6 separate regions of the Homo sapiens genome follow, and regions 1, 2, 4, 5 and 6 are each linked to region 3. The links are contacts of gene promoters, found by promoter capture Hi-C in blood cells and fetal thymus (Javierre and others, 2016). All regions are on one chromosome and are shown on one strand. The core of a region is centred on a gene start or on the middle of the fragment in contact, and the rest is flanking DNA. Distances in the headings are between cores, read along the strand shown. Region 1 overlaps DCAF10 (DDB1 and CUL4 associated factor 10). Region 2 overlaps LOC105376037 (a long non-coding RNA gene). Region 3 holds the start of ALDH1B1 (aldehyde dehydrogenase 1 family member B1). Region 4 overlaps DCAF10 (DDB1 and CUL4 associated factor 10). Region 5 overlaps TRMT10B (tRNA methyltransferase 10B). Region 6 has its middle 30 kb from the start of SLC25A51.

The links. Contacts are between HindIII fragments. The CHiCAGO score rates a contact against its expected background, and 5 or more counts as called.
Region 1: a contact is called between a fragment that was not itself captured here and the fragment with the promoter of ALDH1B1 in region 3, in 3 of 17 cell types (M2 macrophages, M0 macrophages and monocytes). The highest score is 6.6, in M2 macrophages.
Region 2: a fragment that was not itself captured here is called in contact with the fragment with the promoter of ALDH1B1 in region 3 in 3 of 17 cell types (monocytes, M1 macrophages and M2 macrophages); the score reaches 7.9 in monocytes.
Region 4: a contact is called between a fragment that was not itself captured here and the fragment with the promoter of ALDH1B1 in region 3, in 1 of 17 cell types (monocytes). The highest score is 7.1, in monocytes.
Region 5: a contact is called between a fragment that was not itself captured here and the fragment with the promoter of ALDH1B1 in region 3, in 5 of 17 cell types (M0 macrophages, monocytes, M2 macrophages and 2 more). The highest score is 7.8, in M0 macrophages.
Region 6: a contact is called between a fragment that was not itself captured here and the fragment with the promoter of ALDH1B1 in region 3, in 1 of 17 cell types (M0 macrophages). The highest score is 5.5, in M0 macrophages.

What each region holds. Positions count from the first base shown.
Region 1 is chr9:37,855,568-37,859,036 of GRCh38, forward strand. DCAF10 (DDB1 and CUL4 associated factor 10) reads left to right here. Exons shown (of 7, transcript NM_024345.5): 5 at 1,674-1,784. Among named protein-coding and RNA genes, the nearest start is that of SLC25A51, 47 kb to the right of the region's middle. The HindIII fragment of the contact is 4,995 bases long and covers 1-3,469 here.
Region 2 is chr9:37,793,925-37,797,716 of GRCh38, forward strand. The region is part of intron 2 of LOC105376037 (a long non-coding RNA gene); the gene reads right to left. Among named protein-coding and RNA genes, the nearest start is that of DCAF10, 5.0 kb to the right of the region's middle. The HindIII fragment of the contact is 3,366 bases long and covers 523-3,792 here.
Region 3 is chr9:38,391,173-38,394,952 of GRCh38, forward strand. It overlaps ALDH1B1 (aldehyde dehydrogenase 1 family member B1), which reads left to right and starts at 1,530. Exons shown (of 2, transcript NM_000692.5): 1 at 1,530-1,635. RefSeq lists a silencer at 1,297-1,616 and enhancers at 1,827-1,876, 1,917-2,006. The HindIII fragment of the contact is 5,526 bases long and covers 983-3,780 here.
Region 4 is chr9:37,810,652-37,814,142 of GRCh38, forward strand. All of the region lies in intron 1 of DCAF10 (DDB1 and CUL4 associated factor 10), which reads left to right. Among named protein-coding and RNA genes, the nearest start is that of DCAF10, 12 kb to the left of the region's middle. The HindIII fragment of the contact is 4,860 bases long and covers 1-3,491 here.
Region 5 is chr9:37,774,332-37,778,043 of GRCh38, forward strand. It overlaps TRMT10B (tRNA methyltransferase 10B), which reads left to right. Exons shown (of 9, transcript NM_144964.4): 8 at 1,951-2,074; 9 at 3,270-3,712. The coding sequence ends at 3,376. Among named protein-coding and RNA genes, the nearest start is that of EXOSC3, 8.9 kb to the right of the region's middle. The HindIII fragment of the contact is 5,813 bases long and covers 1-3,712 here.
Region 6 is chr9:37,871,951-37,876,000 of GRCh38, forward strand. No RefSeq gene overlaps it. Among named protein-coding and RNA genes, the nearest start is that of SLC25A51, 30 kb to the right of the region's middle. The HindIII fragment of the contact is 4,174 bases long and covers 1-3,706 here.

The DNA.
Region 1 (3,469 bases), core at 666-3,165, 540 kb before region 3:
AAAAAGACTATATTTCATCTACCTTTGGGAAAGAGGGGACTGGTGTGGGGACATACCCATCATTTACATTATAAACAAAAATCCAGGGGAAAAAAGACTTAAGCATTTGGAACATAGAATGCTAATAAATTGCTATTAAAAGGCAGCTTTGAATGGTTGGGGCCAGGTGCGGGGGCTCACACCTGTAATCCCATCACTTTGGGAGGCCAAGGTGGGAGGATCGCTTGAGCCCAGGAGTTGAACTCAAGGGTAGCCTGGGCAACATAGGAAGACCTCATCTCTACAAATAACTTAAAAATTTAGCCAGGTGCAGTGGCTCACGTTTGTAATCCTAGCACTTTGAGAGACTGAGGTGAGCAGATCGCTTGAGCCCAGGAGTTTGTGACCAGCCTGGGCAACATGGTGAAACCCTGTCTCTACGAAAAACACAAAAATTAGCCAGATATGCTAGCATGCATCTGTAGTCCCATCTACTCAGGAAGCTGGGGCAGGAGGATCACCTGAGCCTGGCAGGTTGAGGCAGCAGTGAGCCATGATTGTGCCCCACTGCCCTCCACCCTGGGCAACAGAGAAAGACCCTGTGTCCAAAAAAAAGGAAATGAAAAAAAAGGTTGGAATCTTTCTCCTTGTGCACAGGACCACTTCTGAAAATTCCTTTGGGAAAGTACAGACATCATTGTACTGCAGTGCCTGGCATAACTGTCAAAAGTAGAAATTTAAGTTTTACCAACTTACTTGCAAACAAGGGATTTCATAAATATACGAGTATAATCCTTTGAGATTCAAATTTGCCTTTTAAGTTAAACATGATAAGCAACTCTAACTTAGTGAGAAATAGTGATTTTGAATGTCTAGTTGGCCTATTTCAACTCAAAAACCAACAAGGTTTTCAGTTTTCTAATGGTAATTCTGATACTAAATAACATTACAGGAAATTAGACTAGTAAGAATTCTTAACATAGGTATGGGACCACTAGCAAAATGTGATGATGAAATAGACACTGCTATTTGGAGTAATATATCAGACTCCACTACCTGATACTCATTTTATTTTTTTCAATGTAAACTTTATGTCACATTTCACAGTATTCACATAAACTTGGCACAGTGGTGCATGCCTTTAGGCCCAGCTACTCAGGAGGCTGAGGCTGAGGCAGGAGGATCACTTGAACCCAGGAATTAGGAGTCCAGCCTGGGCAACATAGCAAGATCCTTGTCTCAAAAAAAAAGACTATTCACGTAATTTCAAGAATGATAATGGAAGTTTTTGGTATACTTTAAAGAAGAATCTCTTCATGTTTCTGGTAATGGGCCTGTTGTTTGGACCCTATTTTAACATAAAACAATAGGCTTAAGAGCTTAGTTTTCATTTTCATGGAATTTTTGGGTTCCATTTTAGTACAGAAATCATGAGGATCCAAAGACGCTCCTATGATTATTTGGTTTTTCATTTTTATTTCACATAGTCAAGTCTTTGATATAAAAGATTCAGAAAGGGACTAGATCTTAGAACACTTCAAAGAGCTGTCTTGCCTTCCTCAGTCTTATAGGCCAGTGATATATGAGCATTTTTTCAAAATTTTAAAACTATGGTTCGAGTAGATAATTAAAAAGTTAAGAGCCACTACCAGAGTTATGCTAGGTTTATTGTCAGAATTTTTTATATTTTTAAGATTTGACCACTTCATCAAGTTCATCTGGTCCTAGAGTTTCTGGCTCACCTTGTCATCATAGTGATTCTAATTCTTCTGAGAAACACATGTCACGAGCCTCTCAAAGAGAAGGTAGGTTAAAAGTTGGATTTTATAATCTTGTAACAACAGATTATGCCAATCTGATTAATTATTGATTGATTAAAACCAGTTTTATGGTTTTAATCCATAAAAATAAAAGCAATGGAGATGAGGTGATTTATCCCTCAGTCATCATCTTCAAAAAGCTAACCGAGAGTCCCTGGGGTTGAATATCTTGAGTTAAATCTTAATAGAACTTGAGCTTTGGTTTTATTAGCTGGACTTAGTTTGGTCTAGTTTGGAGAGGAAGTAGTTCAGAAATATAGATTTCAATCAAGATTGTTGTGAAAATTAAGTGAGATTATGCACGTGAAAGCTCTGTATAAATATAAGTCATGAATTTTCAGGTAATTGTGAAAGTCACCTGGTTACCCTCAGACTTTTTGCTCTGCCATTTCCTTGTCTGTGCAATGCCTGACAGCTTCCAAGGGTTTGTAGGATAAAGTGAGCTACCATCTGGCTCCTCTCTGTATTTCCCAGTTTTTTCCTAGCCATTCTGGCAGAACTAGTTGCTCTGCCCTATACCTTCCACCACACCCCCCCAGTTGAAATGGTTTCTGCCTATACAAATTCCACATACTGTTCCTCTTCATACTAACTGACGTCTAAGCTCTTATACCATTCATTGTTTATTCTTCTCTTTGTGAACTGAGTATTAAGAGCCAGAGATGGCTTGCTTTTTTTTTTGTCATTTTGGGTCACTTTTGGAGATAGACATTTCTCTACCTTGTTATTTTGGGCAGAGACTAAATCTTAGACTTCTAATTTGTGTTTTCACTGGGTGGCTTTGCCTAGTAGATGCTGGTTATCTTGCATGGCTACTTATGTCAGTAGAATGGTTTAAGAGCTCTTTCTAACCTATATGGCCTATCCACTTGCCTCTGGATATTGAAGTCTGTGATATTTCACTTTAAGGTTAAAGGCTCCTCCTCTTAAATTTAAAGATTTATGCCCAGAAGTATAACATTTTTCCTTTGATTTGTAACACAAACATCTTTTGCAGATTCTTCCTGTTCTCCTTCCACTTGTGCTATGGGAAACAAGTCAAGGCTTCTAATAATCATTGAGAAAAATCTTTATTGATTGACTACACCATCCACAAGAAAAAGAAACTTAATTTAAGAAGAATAGTTAACATGCTTGCTTGTTATTGACCAGTGGTAAACACACAAACACAAATATACAGCAGTTCTATGCCACAGAGAGTTAAGAATGAGGGAAGAGATGATATATGAGGAGGCTGGGAAGAAGAGGAAAATGAGAGGGTGAAAAGAGAGGGAAAACATGGGAGAAGGTGGGGCTTATAGGTGAAGTTGCTCTAAATGTTGGAAATCCTGGATCTTCAGATGTCAGAGTATGTTAACACTATCCTTTGGCAGATATAATAGCTGTATAGAGCAGAGGCTTTCAAATGCATTTCAGCATTAGAACTCTATTTTTGACATGAAATCTGCTGTGGATTCTTAGAGATGTAGCACAAATAAAATCAAAGTAGCTCTGGTTCAAGAAAAATTAGGGAGGCTCTTGACCCTCCAGCCTTCCCCACTCCATCTACACCTCAGCCCACACGTGGTTCCCCACTTTTGCCATCTCCTGAGGAACCCCAAAGGAGCACAGTTAGCAAACCACCTACTTAGAATGCATTTCTTGTCTGGTTTTGTTATAGGTTTTCCAAA
Region 2 (3,792 bases), core at 956-3,455, 600 kb before region 3:
ATATGAAAAGATACTCAGTATCATTAGTCATCTGGGAAATTCAAATTAAATCACAATGAGATATCACTTCACCTCCACTAGGATGGCTACAATCAAAAAGACATTATAACCAGTGTTGTGGATATAGAAATTTCAGAACACTCATCTTGCTGGTAGAATTATAAAATGGTACAGCCACTTTGAAAACTGAAAAACAGTTTTGCAGCTTCTTAAAAAGTTAAACATAAAGTTACCATATAACATAGCTATTCCAGCCAGGGGTGTGGTGGCTTATGCCTGTAATCCCAGCACTGTAGAAGCCTGGGCAGGATGATCACTTGAGCCCAAGAGTTTGAGATCAGCCTGAGTAACAGAGACCCCATCTCTGAAAAGAGAAGGGACGGGAGGGGAAGGGAGGGGAAGAGAGGGGAATGGAAGGGGGGGAGGGAGGAGGAAAGAGAGGGGAGGGGAGGGAAGGGAAGGGAGAAAGAAAGAAAGGCAGGCAGACAATTCTACTTCTAGGATATACCCAAGAAAATTGAAAGCTTATGTTTACACAAAAACTTAGACATGAATGTTCATAGCATAATGATTAATAATAGCCAAAAGTATAAGTAATGCAAATGTCCAGCAACTGATAAGTGAATAAACAAAGCATGGTATATCATACAATAGAATATTATTTAAACCTAAAAGGGACTAAATGTGCTACAATGTAAAATTAATCTAGAAAATATTACGCTAAGTAAAAGGCCACATATTGTATTATTCCATTTACATGAAATGCCTTCAAACCATGGAGATAGAAAGTTGATATTTAGTTGCCAGAGGCTGGAGAGACGGGTCAGTGAGAGTCATTGTTTCACGGGTACAGAGTTTCAGTCTGGGAAGATGAAAAAGTTCTGGATATGGATGGTGGTGATGGATGCACAACAATGTGAATGTACCTAATATCACTGAACTGTATATCTAAAAATGATTAAAATGGTCAATTTTATGTTTATATATATTTTACCACAATAAAGAATTATTTTCACAGAAAAAGGAGAGAGAGAGAGAGATGAATTGAATGTGGCAAAATCCTAATAATGGAATCTAGATGATGGGCATATAGTTATTTTTTTAAATACTCTTCTCTCTAATTTTGTTTGAAAATTTTTCATAACTAAAAACATAATATGGAGACAGGCAAAATAGGTGTCTTCTTGATGACAATTCAGCCTGATGGGGCAAATATATGGAAAAACTTGTTGCAAAACAAATAACAAACACAGCTTTGACCATGCCTTTCTCCTGCCTGAAAGCCCTCTGAGAGCATCGTATCACCTACAGGGAAAAAAGACTCTCTGTGACCCTCTCCTCTGCTCACCTTGCCACCTCATCCTGCTTCTCCCTGACTTCCATTTCTTGAGCAACACCAAATCCCTTGTAAATTTCCCAAACATGCCCTGATCTGTGCCATTCTTCATGCCATGTATGCACCCTGCTTAACAATCCAGTCTCCCTCCCTCTGCTTAACCTCTCCTTAAAAACTGGCTTGATCACCAGCTCCTCCAGGGAGTATCTTCTGACCCTCTGCTGAACTGTCCCTCATCTGTGTTTCCATAGCTCACTGTCCATAATTTGTCATAGCATCAAACACACCAGATTCAGACTACCAAATTTGTGCAAATGCACATACACACTCAGATCCCAAGAACCTAGAAACCGGTATATCAAAGGCATAGTGTGAATTCTGTGAAGGAGTTTCTGTACCAGGGAAAGCTCCACTAACTTTTAAACTTGCTAGGTATTTCTCCAGCTTTATGAACATTTAATGTCAGATATCCCTGCAGAGACCACTTAAAAGTTTACTTTTGCTCTAGGCTGAAAACAGTATACCTGAGGAAAAACAGTAACATGACTTACACCTTAGAAAATATCCACTTTTAGTTTTCGCCTAAATAGTGCAGGTAATTTTGAGTCTACAAGGCTTCTGAAAAAGAGCAGGGGATGCCAGGTGCTTGGGAGTGGGGGTTGAAGGGTGGAAATGGGACTTCATGCCTAAGTATACGAATTTCAGTTTGAGAAGATGAAAAAATTCCTACCCATTGCACCCTCCAGTTCCCATCCGAAAAGACAACCACCTTCATCTACAGCTCTTTTCTCTGCTATTTTACCTCAATGTTTAAATATAATACACTGATATTGCTTGATTTCTTAATTTTAAGAGAATGTGTTGACTTCCTGACAAGGTAGATGTGGTTTTGGCTCTTCCTATTTCCACACTCTTCATCCCTCCCTCTCCACGCTTTGCTAACACACGGCATAGTTACAGCACAATTTCTGGTTAAATCAGAAGCCATTTTTTACAATATTACCAGTGCAAATATTGTTATCTGCCTTGACAGATTGTACATTTTATGCAATCCTTTATTTTTCATGGAGTTGGTGATTGCCTCGTTTCAGTCCATTGTTTGTTATTCTATATACTTTGTTAATTTCTTCCACTATTCTGGCATTGGAGTCTTTTGCCTCGCCTTAATAGATTGCAACATTCCATTTCCATTTTTCCTCTGGAGACTTCCCACTCTGTGCTCCTCCCACTTTGGGGGGGCTGCTCTTCAGGCCTGCTGCACAGCTGTCTTTTCTTTAATTGTGGTAAAATATGCATAACAAAATTTATCATCTTAACAATTTTTACATGTACATTCAGTACATACACAGTGTTAAGTGTATTCATACTGTTGTGCAGCCATCACCACCATCCATCTCCAGAACTCTTCTCATCTTGCAAAACTGAAATTCTGTACCCATGAAACAATACCTCCCCATCCCCACCTCACCCTAGTGCCTGGCATCCACCATTCTTCTTTCTGTCTCTGTGAATTTGACGACTCTAGGTACTGCATAGAAGTGGAAACATACAGTATATATATCCTTTCGTGACTGGCTGATTTCACTTGGCATAATATTCTCAAGGTTCATACACGTTGTAGCATGTGTCATATTTCCCTCCCTTTTTGTACACCTGTCTTTTATACCTTCCTGCACTGCTCTCCTTCTTAGATCCACTTAGATCACTTTTATTCCACTTTCTTGCTTTACCTGTCCATTTTGCTAGAGGTCCATAACCTCCGGTATCTTCTTAAATAAAGAGAATATGAGGCTGGGCACAGTGGCTCACGCCTGTAAAACAGAGTGACTCTGTCTTTTCTCAAAGATCTACTGATGGCCACACAAGGCATCTCCTTGCTGTGTTAGGTATATCATCCTATGTCCTATTTCTTGTGGCATCATTGAGCCCACAGCAGGCCTCATTTTGAACTTCCACATGTGGCATTTTTTGAAAAATCTGTAGCTGTGGCAATACTGAGCTTGCATTTCCTCGTAGTTGCCAAGTTATGGCTGCCCCCAGTAAAGGGAAATTTAGAGACAATGCTTGCAAAGCTCCTACCAATAAGCCTGGTGAAGCACTTACTCAACAAATGGAAGTTGTTCTTTTTCATGGGATTACAGTTATTCAAAGGTTCAGAATTTAAAAGTGTTCAGAAGAAAAGGGGAGCCAGACCTGATATTTGTAGATTGGCTTAGATTTGGAGGTTTTTAAAAAATACTATTGAGTTGCCATCCTTGGCAAGGAGCTTGTATGTACAGCGATAGCTATAGATCCAAGCCAATCTACAAATGTGTGTGTAGCACCTGGTTACGAGCATGGAACCTGGAGCTAGATTGCCTGGATTTGAATCCTGGCTTTACCACTCTCAGGCTGACTTTTCTTTTTTGTGTCTGTGTTTTCTCATCTCTAAAATGGGGATAATAATCGTACCAACA
Region 3 (3,780 bases), core at 280-2,779:
ATAGTGCCTTCATGGATGGCTAACTTTTGCAGCAAGGGCTGTGAACATGCTAAGGATGATATGGTAGCAAAAGATTCCATAGAGATGTAGCTTAAGGAAAGAACTAAGTGAATTAGGTCCAAGCAGTCGCATGTGAGCACCCTAGATCAGTGGAGAGGCAGGGATTTAATACAAGGAACTGGGTGCTTACAGACCTGCTGCAAGTGCCGGAGGCAGAAGCAAGCCTTAGCCAGACCAGGACCAACTCTCAGGACAATATGGACGTGGCCCACCAGCCTCGTGCCTGTCTGAGGCTACTTCAGACACCCTCCTGCAGCCTCCATTCAAAGAGCAGGAAGCCAGGTCAAGGAGCGGCTACAGCCACAGCGGCCGGTCCACAGCCAGAAAGCTGGAGAAGGGACAAGGAATGCTGCCGCAGAACATCTCCCATTTCTGCTATCCTGCTAGTGCCACCCTACAGGGGCAGGACAATACCCTCCAATGCGTGCCCGCCTTCCACATCCGGCAGAGTACTACTAATTGGCAGCACCTAGTCCACATCCAGAACTCTAACTGCAAATGAGGCTGGGAAACATGGCGGTTAGCTTTGGGACCTCCCTAGCCAGAAGGAAGGTGCAGCGAGGGTGGAGCGAGTGAGATGCATGTTCAGTGGTCCATCTTGGCAACCTTTATAGCAACAAAATGGAGACAATTAAATGTCCAACAGTTTACCCCTACAACAGAATTCTATGCCACCTTGGAGAGGATGATGTCATCTGTAATTAGTGATAGGAGAAAACTTCAAAATACAGCGCTAAGTTTTTAAATTTTTTTTAAAGCAGCACAACAGAGGTTACTATATGATTTTATTTTTATTAAAATAATTTTGAAAGATGCAGAGGAAACAATACTAGCAGGACGAACACCGTAATAATGGCTACCGTAGGTGAAGAGATTACAGGTGATATTTTTCTTCTTTTTTCATCCTTTCCTGTGTTTTCCAAGCTTTCTACACTGTGCATACATTCTTTTTGTCCTTAGGACAAAAATGTACTTTGAAAAATGCCCAAATATAAAATCTTCTTGAAGGAACTGAAGAAAGGAGCAGTGAAAGTGGAGGACAGAAATTAGTGAATCCTGGACAAAAAAAGTGAGGGAGAGGCGAGGCAGAGAAGGGGTTAAGGGGAGTCTCAAGGATGGCAGTCGATTAAGCAGCGTCTTGCAGCGGGGAGAAATGCAAAGTGTAGTTGGGGTTCGGTCTCCGAAAACTTTGCTGTGTGACCTGGGGAAGCCCCTGCCCCTCTCTGGGTATCTCTGTTTCCGCTCCCAAACCAGTGCCTTAGGAGCCTAGATCTGAGCAACGTGGACACTGGGCTTGCGGAGACCCGAGGGAGGGAGCGCTGAAGCGGTGCGGGCTGCCGGGGGTAGAGGGGCGGGGACCGGGAAAGACCGGGCGGGGCGAGGGAGGAGCGGCCTTGGCCGGCGACAGGACGTAGGCAGCGCCCCAGGCGCAGGCGGAGCCTCATTGGCCGCTGAGCCCCGGGCTGCGCGGAGGCGGGACCTGCGGCCAGCCCTGGGCGGCCATGTGGACAGAGCTGGGAGGGCCGGAACCAGAACCCAAGCGTGATCCTGAACCGGAGCCCGAGCCTGCTGCAGGTAACTAACGCTGGTCTCCCCTCGGCTCCCTCGGGAAGCCGCAGCTCCTGGCTCCGCGTGGGGGCTTTCCTCTCTGGGCCGCGGCGTCCGCATCTGGGGGCTGGCCTTTCCGCCGTTGCACTGTAGGACTCTCTCCACGTCCCCTAATCCCATCCCCCGCCTCTGGGTGACGCTACAGGAGCCCCGAGGACACAGACGCCCCCAGACCTTACCACGTTAGCTCGACCTCAACACTCCTGCCCACTCGGCCCACTTCAACAGAGGGCCCCTGACCATAGCCCAGAGGCTTGGACAAGCCCAAAGGTTGCGCCCTTTCCCCCGCAGAAGGGGTGAGGTGGGCGCCGCTGCAGTTCCCGCGGATAGAGAAGGTCCGGTCCTTCCCGCTGTGGGTGAACTGTAAAAAATTGCCTGTATTCAGGAGGATATGCAAAGCTAGGTTTGTGGAAGTCTGGGGTGAGGCTCCTATACTTTCTTGCTGTGTGTCCTCGGTGAGTCCCTGAACCTCTCTGATGCCCAGCCTTCTTCCAGAATGGGGGTCATCATCAACCCTGACCACCCAGGGACTGCAGAGAGGCTTGGCAAATTTCCCGTGAGAAGACAGCCTGCAAACTGTAAAGCATGATGCTCTGTGAGCTGTGATCTTCCTATCAGCAAGTGGAGGCCCCAGCAAGAACCCCATATAGGCCCCAAGAGTAGGAACGGCCTTGGTGTGGCTGCAAAGGTTTGCCAGCCTTGGCCTATGACCACCTCTCCTGACTGCTTCACCCCTCCAATCCTTACCCCATGGGTTGGTGACTCCCCTTTCCCCTACCTCCTTTTGGTCTCCTCACCCTCAGAGCCAGGCCTGTTGGTGGCAAGGGGGCTGTGTCCCAGCATATGGCAAAGTCCTGAGCTAAATGGAACCCTGGGCACCCCTGGCAGATCTGCTGACTCAGCTTCCCCCTGTGGGATATGATGAGGTTTCTCTTCAAATAATCTGATCAATCTTTTATTCTTTAATTCTTAGTATCCCCCCCTTTTTTTTTTTCATTTTTCTCCTTTTTGCCTTTGTTAGATGCCCAGGCATGCCACAGTACCAAGCGTTATCAGTACCAGCTCACATTCCTTTGCTTATTTGGAAAGAAGACTAACTTTCTAGCTCATTACAGACACCCTTTCCCCTTTCTCTCCACTTTCTTTTACGTGCCCACTCTATCTAAAATAAATCAAATGTTTAGCCAACCGGGATTAGTTTAGATTGTACGACCTGACCCCAGCCAATGGGGAAAGGGTACAGGGGCAGGACTTGCATCAGGAATAAAGGCTCTCGTGCCCCTTTGTTCAGGTGTGCTCTCATGGCAACTGGCCAAGGAGGCATCCCTCTGCGCAGAAGTAAAATTGCTTTGCTAAGAATCCTGTGTTCGAGTGTTCAATTTCCTTAGGATTTTGAGCATTATTCCTAACACCCGCAAGGGGAAGGGAAACTTTCTTGGTCAGCATTGATTATTATTATTTTTTTTAGATACAGTCTTGTTCTGTTACCCAGGCTGGAGTGCAGTGGCACAATCATGGCTCACTGCAGCCTCAACCTCCTGGGCTCAGGTGATTGCCCCCACCTCAGCCTCCCAAGCAGCTAGAACTACAGGCATGCACCACTATGCTCGGCAAATTTATTTTTGTTTTTTTGTAGAGACACGGTTCTTGCTATGTGCTCAGGCTGGTCTCAAACTCCTGGCCTCAAGCAGTCCTTCCACTTCGGCCTACCAAAGCGTTACCAGCGTAAGCCACCACGCCCATCACATTGATTTTTATGGGGCCGGGGACCTACATGGAGCCTTGCTTTCCTGATTGAGTTTTTTGTTCCTCTCCCTGCCCAGGGGTGGAGGGTGAGAGGCTGGGGGTGAAGGGACAGGCAGGTGCAATTCCATTTTACCGCTGGGCGGAGCAAGACTCATGAGACATCAAAGGCAGAGAGATTCAAATTCTGACTGAAGAATAACTGCTTCAACTAATCTGGGAACACTACACTCTGTTTAATTTTCATTTAATATGTATTATATGCCGTTTAAGTTTTATAACAGTAGTTGTTTTAACGAAGTCTACACTCTTCAGAGTTGTAGCTTTTCTTCTCAGCTGCCTCCTGACTTGCTGCACCTCTGGGAAAGC
Region 4 (3,491 bases), core at 807-3,306, 580 kb before region 3:
GGCTTTCTCCATGTTGGTCAGGCTGGTCTCGACCTCCTGACCTCAGGTGATCTGTCTGCCTCGGCCTCCCAAAGTGCTGGGATTACAGGCTTGAGCCACTGCGCCTGGCCTCTGAATGGTATTTCTAATGGACTCATGGGTGGGATAGATGAGATTACAAGAATTGCAATTTAGGATCCGCAATTTAGGTTTGGGATTGAAACTCCCCTCCCCTCACCCAGTATACCCTAGGACTAAAGGTGAATCCAGAATCGACAGTACTCATGGGGACTAAAGGCCAGCTTCAAATAATCTCATTCCCTACGTAGATTAAGAAGACCTCAGATTGCCGGCACCTCTACTCTAGCTTACTTGCCATAATTAAAGATGAATCTTCTATGGAAGAAGAAAATATGCAGCTGAGTGCCGTGGCTTACACCTTTAATCCAAGTTCTTTGGGAGGCTGAGGAGGGAAGATTAATTGAGGCCAGGAGTTGGAGACCAGTCTGAGCAACATAGTGAGAGATCCCATATCTGCAAAAAATCTAAAAATTAGCTGGGCAAGGTGGTGTGCGCCTGCCATACTAGCTACTCTGGAGGCTGAGGTGGGAGGATTGTTTAAGCCCAGGCGTTTGAGGTTACAGTGAGCTATAATCACATCACTACACTTCAGCCTGGGTGACCAAGCAAGACCCTGTCTCTAAAGAAATTTTTTTAAAAATATAATATATCATCCAGTGCTTTAAATTATCCCTATAATTTTTGTATACAGTGACGAGCACTAGTACAAAGAGATTCGTTGTCTGAAAAACCAAGAAAATCAGCAAACAATAGAAATAGACCCACAGGAGATCTGACATTAAAACTATTTAATATGTTCAAGGAATTATAAGATGGAGAAATTTAGCAGAGAACTAGAAGCTAAAAAAAGAAAACCCTAGAACTAAAAAGTACAGTAACTGATAAAAACTCACTGGATGATTTAACAGCAAACTGGACACAGCTGAAGGATTTGTGAGCTTGAGAATAGATGAGAAAAAAATATACAGAATAAAGTTCAGATTTACCAAAATGGGACATAGAGATTAAGATATGTCATAAGATACAGGGAAAAGATCTTATAAATATAAATGGAGTTTCAGAAAGATATTAAAGAGAATGAAGATAAATCAATATTTGAACAGATAATGGATGACAATTTTAAAAATTAACAAAAGACATTGTAGATTCAAGAAAGGCTATACATCTCAAGCAAGAGAAAGACAAAAAAAGCAGGCCAGGCATGGTGGCGCACCCCTGTAATCCCAGCACTTATGGAGGCTGAGGTAGTTGGATCTCTTGAGCTCAGGAGTTTGAGACCAGCCCGGCCAACATGGCAAAACCCTGACTCTACAAAAAAATTAGCCGGGTGTGGTGGCATGCGCCTGTGGTCCCAGCTACTCAGGAGGCTGAAGAAGGAGGATCACTTGAATCTGGGAGGTCAAGGCTGCAGTGAGCTGAGATTGCGCCACTGCATTCCAGCGCCACCACACTCCAAACCTTCTGAAACAAAACTGCTTCAAAAACAAAAAAAAAACCTTCCAACTGCTTTAAAAACAAAAACAAAAATCCCTACCAACTTCTTCAAAAACAAACAACAAAAAAAAGAAGAAAAAAAGACAGAAATATAAAGCCACACTTAGCTACAAGAGTAAAGCTGCTAAAACTAAAATAAAACATACATGCACAAAGACAAAGAAAATCTTAAAAGCAGCTAGAGGAAAGAGATAGATTACTTTCAAAGGAGGCTCAAAAAGAGAGCTAAGTTCACTGCAGAAACAATGGAAGTCAAGAGACAAAGATATTTCCAGACAAATATTGAGAGAATTTGCCACTATCAGATCTACACAGAAACAGGTAACAAAATTATTCTTTAGGAGGAAGGAAAAAGGTGGAAGATCAGAGGTACAGGAAAGAATGAAAAGAACAAAAATAAATATGCGTGTAAATCAAAATGAATGTGAACTTTTTTTTCATTTTTTTAGACAGAGTCTCTCTCTGTCATCCAAGCTGGAGTGCAGTGGCATGAACACTGCTCACTGCAGCCTTGACTTCCTGGGCTCAAGTAATCCTCTTGCCTCTGCCTTTTGTGTAGCTGGGACCACAGGCACACGCCAGCATGGCTGGCTAATTTTTTTATTTTTTGTAGAGACAAGGGTCTCAGTTTGTTGTCCAGGCTGGGAATGGTATAAAACATGAAAAATTTTAGTAGAGCATTAAATTTATATATAATTATATCTAAAAAATTAAATATTAGGATGGGATAAAGGAAGTTGAAGTGAGCTAAGGTTCTTGCATCATCCAGGAAGTAATAATTACGTACTTCACTTTAAAAAGTTGATGCATGATGTTAGCTCTTTAGGTATTCGCTAAAAGAAGAGTAAAAATATATTTAACATACTAAATAGCATATGGGGAGATATCAATAGCAAATGTATATATATTCTTAGAGATGGGATCTTGCACTGTTGCCCAGGCTGGAGTTCATTGGTGCTGTCACAGCTCACGGCAACCTCCAACTCCTGGGCTCAAGCAATCCTCCCGCCTGTCTCCTGGGCAGCTAGGACTGCAGCCATAAGCCACTATGCCTGGCCATTTTATTTTTTTATAGAGATAGGGTCTCCACATGTTGTCCAGGCTGATCTCCAACTCCTGGCCACAAGCTATCCTCCTGCCTTGGACTCCTAAAACACTAGGATTACAGGCATGGGCCAATGTGCCTGGCCAAAAAAATGTTTAAAGCAACTGAAAAGGGACATAGAACAGACAGGACAAATGGAAAGTAAATTCTCTGGTGACAGATTTCAACTCAAAGATTGCTAGTAGTTACATTAAATGTAATTTGACTGAGACAATGATTGTCAGATCAGATTTTTAAAAACTGCTTACAGAAGACATACCTGAAATGTAAGGATACACAAAGTTTTAAAGTAAAAGGATGTCAAGGCATACCACTGCTAGCATTAGCTAAATGAAAGTTGGTGTGTTATGTTAATATCAGACAACACAAAAAACAAATTCATACAATTTCCAAGCATTGAGATTAAGCAGTTTGTTTTTCAATGAAAGTTCAGGAAATAAATAACTAGAAAATCTCTTTATTTTTGGAAATGCTCTTTTAAATAACTTGTGAGTCAAAGAAGAAATCACAGTATAAATTATAAAATATTTGAAACTGAATGATGAAAACACTATCAAAATTTGTGCAATTGCAGCTGAAGCCATGTATAGAGGAAAATCTTAGATCCTTAAATGCAGATATTAGAAAAGAAGAAAGGCTGAATTGTCAATAAGCTAAGTAAGCATCCATCTCAAGAACTTTGAAACAGAACAACAAATTATACCCAAAGAAGGTAAAAAGAAGGAATAGAGATCAGAGTGCAATTGAACCACTTTGAAACTATTTGTCACTATATATATATATATATATATATATATATATATATATATATATATATTTGTTGTTGTTGTTG
Region 5 (3,712 bases), core at 236-2,735, 620 kb before region 3:
AGAGGGTCAGTGAGCAGTGCATGACTTACAGATGTGCAGTTTTAACATATTATCTGTCCACCAACATTTAAACTGAAAAATAACTGGAAGATTTGTGAGATGTTTAGAACTTTTTGGTTGTTATTGGAGTTTGGCTTCTTCACAGAAATAAGCTAAGAACAACATTTCTTCAAGGAGAGTCATTTTATTATGAATCATTGTGCAAAGAACATAAACTAAATTGTAAGCTCTTCTAGGGCAACACCCAAATATCCTAATTTTGAATTCTGTACTTCAAAGTGATTATAAAGGAATAAGACTTTTTATAAAACAAACGTATCATATAGCTCATATATGCAAAGGAGTTTTATCCTTTCAAATAAGTCCCTGTATCGCTTAAAACATTTTTGGAAGTTCTATCTAAAATTTTGTTTCATGTGAGGCAGGTGTCAGCACCGAAAAGGTACTAGGTCCACTTCACACTATTCCACCTGGTTAGACCATACTCATGATGGCCAGTCAGTTATGGGACCGTAAACAAAATGATACTGGACTAGCTTAGAACAAGTTCAACTTGTCCTGAATGATGAAGGGACTTGAAATTCAAAGAAGAGTTGACAGAACTGAGGCTACAATCTGGAGACTAGAGGATTCCTAGGGGCATGATCACTGCCTTCAAGTTTCTGAATGGCCATCTTTTGGAAGGGCCATCTTACTTGCATGGTTTGGCCTTGGGGGAATAGACCTAGGATGAATGAGTGGAAGTCTCAAAGAAAACAGAATTTTGCTCAAGATCAAGAAGAATTTCCTATCAGCTGGTACTATCAAAACTGGAGTGGGTTGTCCCAGGATGCATGAACTCCCTGTCACAAGAGCTGTCCATTGAGTGGCCACATGGCCTCTTGGAGAAGTCATAGAGAACAGACAATGAATGGGTGGTTAGAGTGATACAGTTAACACTATTGAGACCCCTTCCAAGCCTTGGCATGTTAATTATCCCAGTAATCTGAACCTTTCTCTTTAATCCTGAAGTCTTAGGTAGAAAATCTTTCCTGTGCTTCTTACAAGGCAGCAAATGTAATCTGACTGAGTCATGACTCAGTCTGAGGGACTTCATGACTAAGGAACATCTTATAAAGGGACATCAGTTTCTGTACTCTGACACTAAATGGCCTCAAGTTGATGGACTTCTTGTGACTCCTTTTTGCAGTTTTCAGAGCCCGCCCTTTTATATTTTTGAGACAGGGTCTCCTCTGTCACCCAGGCTGGAGTGCAGTGGTGCAGTCACAGCTCATTGCAGCCTTGATATATGTCCCAGGCTCAAGTGATCATCCAACTTCAGCCTCCAGAGTAGCTGGGACTACAGGCACACACCAGCACACCCTGTTAATTTTTTTTTTGTTATTTGTAGAGACAGGATCTCCCTATGTTGCTCAGGCTGGTCTTGAACTCCTGGGCTCAAGCAGTCCTCTGGCCTTGGCCTCAAAGTGTTGTGTGAGGCACTTCACCTGGCCCCTTTCTTTTAATTGGGCTCTCTCTTCTCACACCCTAATGCCACTTGTTGCAGTGGTGCACCTGTCTTGAATCTTGTCTACCTTTTCCTCTAATTTGATGCTGCCTTTTGGCAATGAGCTGGAAGTTCCAGATATCCAGAATTGGGTCTTACTGAGTTAGGGCTCAGAATGTGCTCTGATTGATTAGACTGCTTGGGCCTTTTGATGCCTACTGTGGCTGCAGATGTGCCTCTTTTGCTTATTTCCCTCTTGGTTCTAAGTGGCAGTGAGTGGAGGACTGTGGATGAGTGACCCCCCAAAAAGTAAGATATTGTCACATAAGCTCTTGAGACAGTTAACTCATTATCTGCAGTTTCTTCCATTCCACAATAGGCTACTTATTTTTAATGCTGTATTACATTGAGAATATACTCATGTATAATTTTTATAAGAAAAATATTTAACTATATATTTACAGAAGGTGACATTTCAAAAGGCCCGGGAATACTCTGTCAAGACCGCACGCTTGCCAATCCAGGAATACATGGTCAGAAACCAGAATGGGAAAAACTATCATTCAGAGATACTGGCCATCAATCAAGGTACTTCTTACACGGCCCCCATCCAGGGTGTGTGAGTTCTGGTGCTGCTGCTTTGCACTGTGTTTAAGTGGCCTTTGAGTCAGTCTCCTCTGTGACTAATGTGTGTGGACTTTATTGCATGTACGTCATGACATATATTCTGGCCACTAAGAGGCATTCTGTTTTCTTCGTCACCAACTATGTTAAAGATAGTTGAAATTGTCCCCTTGGCCAGGTGCAGTGGCTCACACCTGTAATCCTGTAATCCACTTTCAGAGGCCGAGGTGGGTGGATCACCTGAGGTTAGGAGTTCGAAACCAGCCTGGCCAACATGGTGAAACCCCATCTCTACTAAAATACAAAAATCAGTCAGGCGTGGTGGTGCACGCCTGTAATACCAATTATTCCAGAGGCTGAGGCATGAGAACCACTTGAACCTGGGAAGTGGAGGTTGCAGTGAGCCGAGATCACACCACTGCACTCCAGCCTGGGTGACAGTGATACTCTGTCTCAAAAACAAAAAAAAAAGCTGGGCACGGTGGCTCACACCTGTAATCCCAGCACTTTGGGAGGCTGAGGTGGGCAGATCACCTGAGGTCGGGAGGTCGAGACCAGCCTGACCAACATGGAGAAACACCGTCTCTACTAAAAATACAAAAATTAGCAGGGCATAGTGGCAGGCGCCTGTAATCCCAGCTAATCTGGAGGCTGAGGCAAGAGAATTGCTTGAATCTGGGAGGTGCAGGTTGCGGTGAGCTGAGATCGTGCCATTGCACTCCAGCCTGAGCAACAAGAGTGCAACTCCGCCTCAAAAAAAAAAAAAAAAAAAAAAAAAAAAAAAAAAAAAATTGTCCCCTTCATCTAGAATGCCCAGCTTTTAACCTCTCACCACTGAATTCCTGTTTGATCTTCAGGGTTCAGTTCAGGAGCATCTTGGCCCTTCCCCATCCCAGGCCACAGCAGAGCCCTTCTGTTTCCCATTTTACTGTGTTCCTTTCTGTTGCACCCTATCCATTCATAGGCCTGTATCTTTCAGGGTAGGCTGAGGTCCTTGAGAGCAAGCAGAGCCTGTGTCCTTGCCTCTCCCCGCAAGACCTTAGTACCACATATGGTGCAGAATAGGTTTGTTGAACGAAATATTACAGAACATCCTTTTCATTTACTCGTTCTTTTTTTCCCTCTGTGGTCACTGTGTTTTCTGTTTACTCTCTAACAGTGTTTGATATCCTGTCCACTTACTTAGAGACTCACAACTGGCCTGAAGCATTGAAGAAAGGAGTTTCTTCAGGAAAAGGCTATATTCTTCGGAACTCAGTGGAATGATGGGCCTAAGATTGCAGCTGCGTGGCCAGGTGCTCACGCCGTAATGCCAACACTTTGGTAGACCGAAGTGGGCAGATCACCTGAGGTCAGGAGTTCACGACCAGCCTGGCCAACATGGTGAAACCCTTCTCTACTGAAAATACAAAAATTAGCCAGGTGTGGTGGCGCATACCTGTAGTCCCAGCTACTTGGGAGGCTGAGGCAGGAGAATCACTTGAACTCGGGAGGCGAAGGTTGCAGTGAGCCGAGATTTCACCAGTGCACTCCAGCCTGGGTGACAGAGCAAGACTCCATCTCAAAAAAAAAATAAATAAAAAAAAATGCAGCTGCAGGAGT
Region 6 (4,050 bases), core at 370-2,869, 520 kb before region 3:
TCATGGCATTACATCCCCTCTTGGGAAAGTCCAATTTTTGTATAACAACCACTGGGCCTGTCCCTGAGTTTTCCTCCAGGCTCCTCCCTTTTGGCAAAGGACAAAAAAAAGTGGTGCTCAAACTTTACTGTGCATTAGAATCACCTGGAAAATGTGTTAAAATAGATTGCTGGGTCCCCATCCAGAGTTTCTGATTCTGTAGGTCTGGAGTGGGAGCCCTAGTTTTGCATTTCTAATCAGTCCTCCACTGATGCTGTAGGTCTTAGGGACCACAGTTTGAGAACCACGGATATAGAAAATGCAGTTAAGATTTAGATCTTCCATGGATGACAGATGCCATGGATCTCTGTGTAGATAACAGAAGTCCATTTAGAGAACCTCCTACCTTTTTGAGGCCAATATAGAAGAACAATGTGTCCCTTCAGCTACATCATTTTCAGTACATTATCAGGTTTGCACTTCTTGAACTAGAGCTAAGAGTTCCCTGATTAAAACATGATATTGGCCGGGTGCAGTGGCTCATGCCTGTAATCGTAGTACTTTGAGAGGCCAAGGCAGGCAATCACCTGAGGTCAGGAGTTCAAGACCAGCCTGGCCAACATGGTGAAACCCCGTCTCTGCTAAAAGTACAAAAATTAGCCAGGTGTAGTGGCGCAGGCCTGTAATCCCAGCTACTTGGGAGGCTGGGGCAGGAGAATTGTTTGAACATGGGGGGTGGAAGTTGCAGTGGGCCGAGATCGTGGCATTGCACTCCAGCCTGGGCAACAAGAGCGAAACTCTGTCTCAAAAAACAAAACAATAAAACAAAAACATGATATTTACATTACTGGGCAGTTAAGTAAGCTAAGATGATCTTACCTTCTCAGGAACAGACCTGGTGCTGTGTAGCTTATCTTTTAACTCAAAATGAGAGAGCAGCTACAGAAATATACACTCCCTGGTATAAGCTGTAAATAGCTGCAACTGTTGCTAACAATAGCAATAAATCCAGAAAAGGAACAACTGAAACTTTAACCAGAGCATACACAACTCAAAATACTTTTTAGCCTTAAAAAGTGTTTTAAAAAAAGTTATTTCCAGGGAGCCGGGTGAGGTAGCTCACGCCTATAATCCCAGGACTTTGGGAGGCTGAGGCAGGCAGATCACCTGAGGTCAGGAGTTCGAGACCAGCCTGGCCAACATGGCAAAACCCTGTCTCTACTAAAGATACAAAAAACTAGCTGGGCGTGGTAGTACATGCCTGTAGTCCCAGCTACTCAGGAGGCTGAGGCAGGAGAATCACTTGAACCTGGGAGGTAGAGGTTGCAGTGAGCCGAGACTGCACCACTGCAAGCCAGACCCTGTCTCAAAAAAAACAGTTGTCTCCTTGCAAGTTGTTTAAATTATGAGTACTTTAGAATGCTTTGTTGACATTACTTGTTAAAGTTCTTCTCTATAAAAGGTTAGTTTTTGTTGGGGTAAAATGAAGGATCCAAATTTAATTGTGAAATGGTTACTTTTTAAAAGTTAAAATACAGAGCATCAGATTTGTTCTAAACACATTGCATTTATTCTTAAATAGTTTTTTTCTTGCATACTTAATAAATGTATGTAATTAAAAGAAAGATTTCCTGGCGTTTATTTAAAGTTGCAGTGTATTGCAGGAAAATCATAATTTTCCTAGTAGCCTGGTCCCTGCTAGTCAGGAGGTGGGTAGACCCCTTATTGCTGGGCAGTCTTAGGAAAGAATGCTTTTTCGTTGTTGTTGTTTGTTTGTTTTGAGACGGAGTCTCGCTCTGTCGCCCAGGCTGGAGAGTAGTGGTGTGATCTTGGCTCACTGCAAGCTCTGCCTCCCAGGTTCAAGCCATTCTCCTGCCTCAGCCTCCAAAGTAGCTGGGACTACAGGCACCTGCCACCACGCCCGGCTAATTTTTTTCTATTTTTAGTAGAGACGGGGTTTCACCGTATTAGCCAGGATGGTCTTGATCTCCTGACCTCGTGATCCATCCGCCTCGGCCTCCCAAAGTGCTGGGATTACAGGCGTGAGCCACTGCGCCCAGCAGGAAAGAATGTTTGAAAGATTGGCCTCTGTTTTAGCCACCAGCCCTGTCACATTCAGGAGGGGATAGTCCAGACCTCAGTGGGAGGGAACTGCCATATTATCATCATTAGTGGGGAAGACAAGTAAATTTCTAGGCCACAGGCTTGTGTTCCCTTCTAGCAAGTATTTCAGTGGTATCTTATAACTTCATAGCAATCTAAGAATAGCATACTAAAAGAGCTAAACTGAGTTTCTCAATTATTCAGCAATAATGATAAACCCCCTAATGGTTTTTCCCAACATTTTATTATGAAAATGTCCAAACAGCAAAGTTAAAAGAACTTTACAGTGAACACTGTTTACCAAGGTTTTACCATTAATATTTTACTTGTTTTATCCCTTAACTAACTCTGTCCATCAGTCCATCTTGTTTTATTTATTTTTTTGAGACGGAGTCTCTCTGCGTCGCCCAGGCTGGAGTGCAGTGGTGCAATCTCGGCTTACTGCAACCTCCGTCTCCCAGGTTCAAGTGATTCTCCTGATTCAGCCTCCCAAGTAGCTGGGGTTACAGGCACCCACCATCACGCCTGGCTAATTTTTGTATTTTTAGTAGAGATGGGGTTTCACCATGTTGGCCAGGCTGGTCTTGAACTCCTGACCTCAGGTGATCCACCTGTCTCAGCCTCCCCAAGTGCTGGGATTTACAGGTGTGAGCCACTGCACCCAGCCTAATCCATCTTAATTTTTGATGCATTTTAAATTGCTGACATCTGTACCCATCCTTCTAAAAGTCCTCACATGACTAGAGTTTAACATTTGTTTTTTTCTTTTGTTGTAAAATTTACATAGAATGAAGTACACAGATTAACTCTACATTACTTAAATTTATATAAATGTATACACCTGTGTAACCCAAACATCTGTCAACATATAGAGTACTACCACCATCCCAGCAAGTTCTCTCCTGCCTCTTCCAGGTGAACCTCTGCCCCCATCCTCCCAGAGGGAAACACTGTTTGTTTGTTTGTTTGTTTCTGCTACAGATTTTCCTCTTCTAGAACTTCACGTAAGTGAAATTATCCATTATGTATTCCTCTTGATGATTTCTAAAAGAAATTCTTAAGAAATTAAAAGGGTTTCCGAAACAAGGAGAATAATTGATAAAGAAAATATCAGAGATCAGATTGATTACTTCATTAAATGTATTTATTATGAGAACCTCTAATCTGTGGATATAGAAATCTGAAAGACAGACCCTGCCCTCGAGGAGATCACATTGTCCTGGCAGATAAAGTACAAACATGCAGTTAGAGACAGGCAAGAAACAGTTATCACTTGGCACAGAAGGGGCCTAATCCAGCCTGGGAGGCGATGGAGAAATCAAGAGACATTTACATTTTCACTTTGGAACTTGTCTCGGGCAGCCAGTGCTCTTTATTTTCCATAAAAGTCTAGAACCTCTTAACTCAAAATGATTTGTCCTGAAATGGCAGTTTTACAACACTGAGTAGGTGTAACACAAACTCGCTAAATAAAATAAATGAGGAAAAACTGTAAAAGGCACAAACTGAAATTATTGGGGATTCTGTTTTCCTCTAGTTCGAGTTGAAATAGACTCAAATAGATGTGTTATTGCTCCCAAACACAAATAACATGCATTCCTGTTCTTGGATCACAAGTGGCAGAAGCTTTCAAGAGCTCTAGATAGCAACAGCAAAACTTTAATCTTCTTGGACTTCCCTTTAACCTTCTCAAGGTATATAAAACTGTTGCTGGTTGGGCATGGTGGCTCATGCCTATAATCCCAGCACTTTGGGAGGCTGAGGCGGGAGGATCATTTGAGGCCAGGAGTTTGTGACCAGCCTAGGCCAACATAGCAAGACCTCATCTCTACCAAAAACCAAAACCAAATCAATTGTATCTTCAAACTGAGGCCCTCATCTCCTAATTTTTTTTACTCTTTACTTCCATATTTTACACACAGATTACAAATGAAAGATCCTCAGTTTCCACCTGTACCCACTTTTTCC